Linked DNA regions of Homo sapiens: region 1 is linked to region 2. The links are contacts of gene promoters, found by promoter capture Hi-C in blood cells and fetal thymus (Javierre and others, 2016). All regions are on one chromosome and are shown on one strand. Each heading gives the region's core, a stretch centred on a gene start or on the middle of the fragment in contact. The rest is flanking DNA. Distances are from core to core; before and after follow the strand shown. Region 1 has its middle 11 kb from the start of ITGAM. Region 2 holds the start of PRSS8 (serine protease 8).

The links. Contacts are between HindIII fragments. The CHiCAGO score rates a contact against its expected background, and 5 or more counts as called.
Region 1: a contact is called between a fragment that was not itself captured here and the fragment with the promoter of PRSS8 in region 2, in 1 of 17 cell types (monocytes). The highest score is 7.7, in monocytes.

What each region holds. Positions count from the first base shown.
Region 1 is chr16:31,246,518-31,251,258 of GRCh38, reverse strand. No RefSeq gene overlaps it. Among named protein-coding and RNA genes, the nearest start is that of ITGAM, 11 kb to the left of the region's middle. The HindIII fragment of the contact is 2,752 bases long and covers 222-2,973 here.
Region 2 is chr16:31,133,095-31,138,230 of GRCh38, reverse strand. It overlaps PRSS8 (serine protease 8), which reads left to right and starts at 2,504. Exons shown (of 6, transcript NM_002773.5): 1 at 2,504-2,817; 2 at 3,060-3,077; 3 at 4,843-5,005. The coding sequence starts at 2,733. RefSeq lists an enhancer at 3,443-4,389. The HindIII fragment of the contact is 17,481 bases long and covers 1-5,136 here.

The DNA.
Region 1 (4,741 bases), core at 348-2,847, 110 kb before region 2:
ATCTCTAAGTTCTTGCCTCCCAACCTTGAAAGGAGGAGTTGCTCAGGGCCTAACCTGAGCAGGGCAGGAAACAAAACTACTAATTCCTGGAATAGGCTACTTGGTACTCAGTAAATCTCATGTTCTACTTGTTCTGTTGTTTTTCCCCAAAAGGCCCTAACTGATGTGTGACTTAACAGAGTTTTTGTAAGGGTTAAATTAAATAATGCATGTGAAAAGCTTAGCACAGTGCCTGGCATGTAAGATGCGCCCCCACCGGCAAAGATGATTATTTGTATTGGTGGAGACTAAGGTTCAACTGTTGTAATAAGACCCAAAATCACAGAGGCTTAGCCCAGACAGTCCTGTGATGGCCCCAGCATCAGCATTTGGGGGTTACGGAGGCTCCATGGTGTTGGAGATCCAGGCTCCCTCCAGCAGGTTGCTCTGCCATCCTGAGGGTTTTGTCTTCATCCGCCTGGTCAAAGACGGCCCAGCGCCAAGTCCACCCTCGGGCTGACAGGAAGGATAAAAAGAAGTGGTGCCTGGCAGGGAGTGGTGGCTCACGCCTGTAATCCCAGCACTTTGGGAGGCCGAGGCAGGCGGATCACCTGAGGTCAGGAGTTCAAGACCAGCCTAACCAACATGGTGAAACCCCATCTCTACTAAAAATACAAAAATTAGCTGGGTGTGGTGGCACATGCCTGCAATCCCAGCAACTTGGGAGACTGAGGCAGGAGAATCGCTTGAACTCAGGAGGCAGAGGTTGCAGTGAGCCGAGCTCAAGCCACTGTACTCCATCCTGGGCAATAGAGTGAGACTTTGTCTCAAAAAAAAAAAAAAAAAAATTGAGGCCAGGCACGTTGGCTTATGTCTGTAATCCCAGCACTTTAGAAGGCCGAGGCAGGCAGATCACTTGAGCCCACGAGTTCAAGACCAGCGCAGCAACATGACACAACCTTGTCTCTATAAAAATTACAAAAAAAAATTAGCTGGGCATGGTAGCATGTGCCTGTGGTCCCTGCTACTTGGGAGGCTTAGGTGGGAGGATCACCTGAGCCTGGGAGGTCAAGGCTGCAGTGAGTCAAGATTGCACCACTTTACTCCAGCCTGGGTAACAGAGCAAGAATCTGTATCAAAAAAAAAAAAAGCCAGGCACAGTGGCTCACACCTGTAATCCCAGCATTTTGGGAGGCCGAAGTGGGTTCACATGAGGTCAGGAGTTCGAGACCAGCCTGGCAAACATGGTGAAACCCCGCCTTTACTAAAAATACAAAAATTAGCCAGCCATTGTGGCGGGCGCTTATAGTCCCAGCTCCTTGGGAGGCTGAGGCAGGAGAATCGCTTGAACCTGGAAGGTGGAGGTTGCAGTGAGCCAAGAGCATGCCACTGCACTCCAGCCTGGGTGACAGAGTGAGACTCTGTCTCATAACAAAGAAAAAAAATGGTGGGAAGGCCCCTTTCCTTTAAAGGTGAGACCAAATGTTGCACACATCATTTCCTTCACATCTCATTGGCCAGGACTTAGTCACATGGCCACACACAACTGCAGTGGTGACTGGAAAATGTGATGTTATCCTAAGTATCTGTGTGCTAATTAATGGGGTTGCATTACTAAAGGAAGAAGAGGAAAGCACATGGGGGCAACTAGCTCTCTCTGCCACATATCATTATCATTACTCTAAGCACGCTCTGGATGAAACATCTTGTACAATTTGACAAAGTAACTATGGTCCTTAGGCATCCTTGACCTGATATAAGTATCATTACTGTCACATTCAGCTCAGGGCCTCTCTATTCAGAGCTTTACAGGCCTTGGGGTTTGGGGAGAGGCTGCAGATTCAACAAGAGCTTTCCTCCAGAAAAGTTTTATGTGCCTTAAATAAAGTGGGAAATTGAGGGAGAGGGGGGCTTCCTGGTTCCACATGAAGGAATACAGAGGTTGGAGAAAGGGTGGAGGCAAAGCCCTGAGGGGAGGCAGGCATCTCTCACTCCAAGGGGCTCCTCAGCAGAGGAGAGAGCCATGGTTAAGCTAAATAGCAACCCCAGGAACACCTCAGCTGTACTTCAGCTACTGGGGACCACAAGCAAGAGATGGACCCAGCTTGGAGTCTAGAGAGAGTCAGGGCATTTCCAACCACATATGGGTACCAGTCATGTGGAACCCCTGCCATCCCTTCAATTCTTTCCTCTCAATCTCTCACCCTGGGGGAGCCACAAACAGAAGGAAGAGAAAAAGGAGGAGAAGTAAAAGGGTGGATCACACACCCTGGCCCCTCAAAGTCCCTAGAGCTAGCATTAAACTGTATATGGTGTGATGACTTGGAGATTATGCCCATCTTTCCACTAGACTCTTCATTCAACAGGTATTAACTATGTGCCAGGTGCTGCTCCAGGCTCAGGGAAATGGATGTGAACGAGAGAGGAAACCTCCCTACCTTTAAGGAGCTTACGTTCTTGGGGGGTGATAAACAATGGCTGCCTTGAGAGCAGTGACTATGTCCTGCTCATGGCTTTATCCCAGGACCCAGCACCTTATCTGGCTGGGGCTCACTGAGTGTTGCTTAGATGAACCACATCACAATTGAGTTTGTGTGGACACTTGTGGTTATCTCCCCAGCATCCAGTTTCCCCCTTCCCAGCGACTCTCAATTTCCACTTGGAGGACTACGTGGTTTGGGAAGAACTGACTTTGCCCCAGGTCTGAGGGTGGAGCATGTGAACTACACTAAGACAATCCAACTATTCTATCGCTCTGACATAAGTCGTTGGTTCAAGTGTGGGCATGTGTCTAATCAAAGTGGATCTCAGGACAAAGATGTTTTTTCTCCTCCTAGTGTGATGTAAAACCTGGAACCACTGCAGCTATTTTTGCTACTGTGGTGCTGGGATTACAGATGTGAGCCACTGCACCCGGCCAAAAATTTTTTTAAATTTAAGAAAAGAAATCAAGGGAGATAAGAAATGATTACTGTTGTTTTAAGCCTCTAAGCTTAGGGTCATTTGTCATGCAGTTTCAGATAATTATTAGGTGGGTGCAAATGTAACTAAAGTAATTAAAGTCATGGCCAAAACCGCAATTACGTTTGCATCAAACTAATAGTACAATTGACTATTGGGTGTGTCTGGAATACCATCCTTCTGCTTCTTTTTGTTTTCCTTAGAAACTCCTACTTGCTCTCCAAGGGCCAACTCAAGTTGTCACCTCTTCTGAGAAGCCTGCCCTAATTTTCCTGCTTAACCCCAAGCTCTGTTACACACAGCTCTATTAGCAGTCCTCACACTGTGATCTTATTGTTTATGAGGTTATTTCTCTCACTATAGCTTTTTGAAGGCAACAATTTTGAATTATCCAAATGCATACGCCTAAGACTGAGCATGGTATGTGCTACATTAAAAAGGAGTTTGATGAAGTTTGGTTGAATAAATAAATAATGGAAACTTCAGCTGTGGACAAGACAAAGAATGCTGGCGGGGTGCGGTGGCTCACGCCTGTAATCCCAGCACTTTGGGACGCCAAGGCGGGCGGATCACAAGATCAAGAGATCAAGACCATCCTGGCCAACATGGTGAAACCCCATCTCTACTAAAAAATACAAAAATTAGCCGGGCATGGTGGCGAGCACCTGTAGTCCCAGCTACTCGGGAGGCTGAGGCAGGAGAATCACTTGAACCCAGAAGGCGGAGGTTGCAGTGAGCTGAGATCATGTCACTGCACTCCAGCCTGGGGGACAAAGCAAGACTCCGTAAAAAAAAAAAAAAAAAAAGAGAGAGAGCGCGCACAAATTCAGATGTAGTTATAGACATGCAAATTAACTGGTTGATGTGAACGACACAGCTAATAAGGTAGCATTAATAGATGTATGTCATGCCTGTAGTGCCAGCTACTTGGAGGGTCAAGGGCAGGAGGATGGCTTGAGCTTAGGAGTTCAAGGCTGCAGTGAGCTATGATGTACTGCACTCCTGCACTCCAGCCTGGGCAACAGAGCAAGATCCTGTCTTTAAAAAAAAAGATGAATAGGCTGTGTGTGGGTGTGTGGTGGCTCACGCCTGTAATCCCAGCACTTTGGGAGGCCAGGGAGGATGGATCACTTGAGGCCAGGAGTTTGAGACCAGCCTGGCCAACATGGCAAAACCCCATCTCCACTAAAAATACAAAAATTAGCCAGGCATAGTAGCACATGCCTTTAAGTAATCCCAGCTACTTGGGAGGCTGAGGCATTAGAATCGCTTGAGCCTGGGAGGCAGAGGTTTCTGTGAGCCGAGATCGCACCACTGCACTCCAGCCTGGGCGACAGAGCAACACTCTGTCTCAAAAAAATAAATAAATAAAGCTTTTTAAGCACTAAAACTCATTTCACAAATACCATTCCAATTTCATGCCACAGAAAGGCAGAAATGATACATACCACATCCCTGATTAAGGTAAAATCAGAAATGATAGATTAAGGTAAAAACAGAAAATACTGAAAATATAACTAAAAGTGCCTAATTCTTGAAAATTGAAAATGTAGAACAAATAGTCAATACATACTATAATGACATACTGTATTTTACAATAATAATAATAATACATAATAAAAACTGACACTGATTGAGAATTTACTCTGTGCCAGACATGGTTCTAAGTGATTAGCATGTGTTCACTCACTGACCCTTCATAGAAATCCTATGAAGAAGGTATTCTAGCCCCATTTTGCAGATGAAGAAACTGAGGCACATGGAAGTTATGTAACCAGGCTGGGTGCAGTGGCTCACACTG
Region 2 (5,136 bases), core at 1,255-3,754:
GTAATCCCAGCACTTTGGGAGGATCGCTTGAGGCCAGGCATTCCAGACCAGCCCGGGCAACAAAGCAAGACCCCCATCTCCACTTTTTTTTTTTTGAGACAGAGTCTCATACTGATGCTCAGGCTGGAGTGCAGTGGTGCAATCTCGGCTCACTGCAACCTCCACCTCCTGGGTTCAAGCGATCCTCCTGCCTCAGACTCAAGTAACTAGGATTGCAGACTCAAGACACCATGCCGGACTAATTTTTGTATTTTTATTTAACTTATTTATTTTTAATTTTTTGAGACAGAGTTTTGCTATTGTCGCCCACACTGGAGTTCAATGGCGCAATCTCGGCTCACTACAACCTTCACCTCCCAGGTTCAAGCAATTCTCCTGCCTCAGCCTCCTGAGAAGCTGGGATTACAGGTGCCCACCACCATGCCCAACTAATTTTTGTATTTTTAGTAGAGGTGGGGTGTCTCTATGTTGGCCAGGCTGGTCTTGAACTCCTGACCTCAGATGATCCGCCCACCTCAGCCTCCCAAAGTGCTGGGATTTACAGGCGTGAGCCACTGCATCTGGCCTATTTATTTTATTTATTTATTTATTTTGAGATGGAGTCTCCCTCTGTTGCCCAGGCTGGAGTGCAGTGGCACAATCTTGGCTTCCCAGGTTCAAGCAATTCTCCTGCCTCAGCCTCCCGAGTAGCTAAGATTACAGGTATGCGCCACCACGCCTGGCTAATTTTCTTTGTATTTTTTAGGAGAGACGGGGTTTTACCATGTTGGCCAAGCTGGTCTCAAACTCCTGATCTTGAGAATGATCCTCCCACCTTGGCCTCACAAAGTGCTGGGATTATAGGTGTGAGCCACCACATCCAAGCTCCACAATTTTTTTTGTTTGTTTGTTTTTTGAGACGGAGTCTCGCTCTGTCGCTCAGGCTGGAGTGCAATGGCGCAATATCTCGGCTCACTGCAACCTCCACCTCCTGGGTTCAAGCGATTCTCCTGCCTCAGCCTCCTGAGTAGCTGGAATTACAGGTGCGTGCTACCACGCCTGGCTAATTTTTGTATTTTTAGTAGAAATGGGGTTTCACCATGTTGTTCAGGATGGTCTCAAACTCCTGACCTCGTGATTCGTGTGCCTTGGCCTCCCAAAGTGCCGAGATTAGAGGCGTGAGCCACCACACCCAGCCTCAACAGGTGTTTTGAACGGCCAGAGTGGCCCTCAAGGAGGATACATGCCTCACTCCCACCGCAGCCACACGGCAAGCCTTCTTTCCCTGAGCCTCTGCCCTCTGCACCCCATCCCCCCATCTTCGCCTTACCACCTTTTATAATCCCTTTCGGTCTCAGTTTCCAAGGCAATTCCTCGAGGACCCTTTCACAATGCCAGCCTTTGCCAGGCTGTGGTGTGCTCACGCCATTCTTTTTCATCACTATTCCTAGCTTGAAATTATTGTGTAATTGCAATTTTTTTTTTTAAGACAGGGTCTCCCTCTGTTGCCCAGGCTGGAGTGCAGTGGCGTGATCATAGCTCAATGCTTCGTTGAACTCCTGGGCTCAAGCAATCCTCCTGCCTCAGCCTCCCAAATAGCTGGAACCATAGGCATGCGCCACAATGCCTGCCTAATTTTTATATTTCTTTGTAGAGATGAGGCCTCGCTATATTCCCCAGGCTGGTCTGGAACTCCTGGCTTCAAGTGATGCTCCAGCCTCAGCCTCCCAAAGCCGACTAGCCACCTTGCCAGCCTGTTTGTGATTATTTGATTGAAGTGTGTCACCCCTACTTCACCATGAGCTCAGGGCTCAAGGGGGACGGGGCTGGTGCCTGTTTTGTCCTGGACACCTGGGAACATCATAGGCACTTAGGAAATGTCTGTGGGATGATTGGTGCTGCTCCACAAGCTCGCCACCACCCATGAGGTGCAGGCATCGCAGAAAGGGCCTGGCAGGGGACAGACCATAGTGTCTTAAGCTCCCATAACCAGCCTAAGGAGGGAGGGAAGAAGGGAGGAGTGGCTGTGGCTCCAGATAATAAAAGCTGGGGCCAGGCCCTGGGGGGCATAACTGGCCTGAGATAACCTGAAAGACCTGAGGCGGAGGAGAGTCGTCACATTCCAGGGAGACTGCACACACACACAAACCACATGCACGTGCATGCACGCACACTCAGACACACACACTACACACACAGGGACACACACAGCCTACACATGTGCACATACAGCCTGTACATGCACACACACACACATACCACACCACATAAGAGGACACACACAGCCTACACAGGCATACACACACACCACATACACACTACACACCGGGACACACACACAAAAGGCCTATGCATGTGCACACACATACACACGGACACATACATGCACACACACGGGCCTGCAGCTCTGAAAGGACTCATGACTTTGGTGGCAAGAGGAGCTGGCGGAGCCCAGCCAGTGGGCGGGGCCAGGGGAGGGGCGGGCAGGTAGGTGCAGCCACTCCTGGGAGGACCCTGCGTGGCCAGACGGTGCTGGTGACTCGTCCACACTGCTCGCTTCGGATACTCCAGGCGTCTCCCGTTGCGGCCGCTCCCTGCCTTAGAGGCCAGCCTTGGACACTTGCTGCCCCTTTCCAGCCCGGATTCTGGGATCCTTCCCTCTGAGCCAACATCTGGGTCCTGCCTTCGACACCACCCCAAGGCTTCCTACCTTGCGTGCCTGGAGTCTGCCCCAGGGGCCCTTGTCCTGGGCCATGGCCCAGAAGGGGGTCCTGGGGCCTGGGCAGCTGGGGGCTGTGGCCATTCTGCTCTATCTTGGATTACTCCGGTCGGGGACAGGTAAGTGAGGACGTGGGGGCAGGGTGGGGACAATGCACTGGAGGGAGCCGGCGTGATCATTTTCTGGGGTGTGCCCTTGTCTGGGGCCCAAGAAAACCCCCGGCCTCCCTAGCTCTTGGCCTCTCTTTCCCACCTTGGCTCTGTCAGGGAAGGGGCCAGCCCTCTGGAGCAGTGGTGGGTACTAAGGGGTCAGGGAACCCGAGTCTTCCCTACTCACCCCTCCTCTTTCTCTTTCTTTCTAGGAGCGGAAGGGGCAGAAGGTGAGACTTTCCTCGGAGAGGGAGGAGGGGAGGGGGAGGTGACTTGGATCGGATTCCCCTGGGGTTTAACCAGTGCCTGGCCTTCAGCTGGGCTGCCTTCCAACTAGATTCTCTTAGGGCTCCCAGAGTGGGGGGTTTTAGCCCTCACCTTATGGGCAGAGAAGCAGGGACTTGCCCAGGGCACACTGCCAGTGAAGGTGCAGCTGGGATTCAGATCCACGTCTGACTCCCAAAGTGGGGCAATCGAGGTGGTTTTTTTGGTTTGGTTTTTGTCTTTTGAAACAGGGTCTGGGTCTGTCGTCACCCAGGCTGGAGTGCAGTGGCCCGATCGCAGCTCACTGCAGTCTCAGTGATCCAGCCTCCCGGGCTCACGTGATCCTCCCACCTCCCCACCTCAGCCTCCCTAGTGGCTGGGACTACAGGTGCATGCCATCACACCCAGCTAGTTGTGTTTTGTTTTTGTTTTTGTTTTTGTTTGGTAGAGATGTGGGTCTCACTATGTTGGCCGGGCAGGTCTTGAACTCCTGGGCTCAAGCGATCCTCCTGCCTTGGCCTCTCAAAGTGCTGGGATTACAGGTGTGAGCCACCGTTCCCATCCTGGAGGTGGTTTTGAGGGAACCAAACCAAGGGTCTCCTTTCTTGGAAGGCACCCAACCCAGCTCTGAGTCAGACCGGCTTTCAATCCTGGCTTCCCCATGCACTGGCTGTGTGTCATTGGCCAAGTCCCCCCACTTCTCTAAGCCTTAGACTCCTCACCTCTAAAATGAAGCTGGTCATGTCCGTCTCCTGGGGCTGTGGAGAGGATGCAGGGAGATGAGGAAGCGAAAGCCCCTCCAGGGCCTGGCACAGCCGCTAGGCTCTCTAAATAGTGGCTATTGTCATGATGATAAGGGAGAGAAAGATCTGGTCTGCAATTTTCTCTGCTCCTAGATGACTTTGTGAAGAGCAGTTGGGCTCCACTCCAAAGTGGCCTCAATGGGGGTGGGGCTGGGGCTGTCCTGGAAACTAGACATTCACATCACAGGAGCCCAGTTCTGCTGTTGGTTTGTTGAATATATGTCCACGACGCCACAGGCACTGCAGACATGAGAATCTGCCCCTAGGGAATGCCCAGATTGGTGTGGTGGAAACAGACACAGTTGTGGACTCCGGAACAATTGTGAGACTGGGCAGCATCGGGGAGCATGGTGGAGGTTGGGGGGTGCTGGGCTCGGAGGCAATGCCCAACTCAGCCAGCAGAAGCCCGCCTGTCTACGGAGGGGCTGCTGTTCCAATCAAGCATCCACAGGCAAAGGGAAGTTTGCCAGACAGTAAGGATGGGGAAGGGCATACCAGGTAGAGTGACCTGGATCAGCCAAGGTCCCGGGTAAACAAGTGTGTGGCCTGATGTACACAACTGAAGGGTCCAGAGGGGACGGCTGGGTCCGATGGCGGTGCCATGGTCTGTCTGGAATGTATCTTAAGGACCGCGTGGAGCCAAGAAGGGTTTAAGCAGGGCTGTGGCCTGGTCAGATTGGGGGTTTATGAAAATCTTCAGACTTGTAAGGGGCGGGATGGATGGAAGGCTTGCAAGGAGAGAAGCTGCCATGAGACCTGAATTAGGTAATGGGTAGTGGACAGAAGGGGCACAACTGCCCATGCCTGGGAGGGGACAAAGGGGTGTTGACTCCTGTGAACCCACTTCCCAAGCTCTATATCAGAGCTCCTGGGCTGCATAGGAGTGGCCAGGCTAACAACCTGACCCCTTCCCTTCCTCCCTGGGCAGCTCCCTGCGGTGTGGCCCCCCAAGCACGCATCACAGGTGGCAGCAGTGCAGTCGCCGGTCAGTGGCCCTGGCAGGTCAGCATCACCTATGAAGGCGTCCATGTGTGTGGTGGCTCTCTCGTGTCTGAGCAGTGGGTGCTGTCAGCTGCTCACTGCTTCCCCAGGTACCAAATGGTGAAAGTCAAAAGTGGGCTGGAGGTCAAAGTTAATGGGTCAATCCAGGTCAGAGGTTGGGGTTCTTGGGTTGGGTCTGAGAGTGTCAGTTCTAAGTCTGGAAGGACCAGTTAGGAGTGAA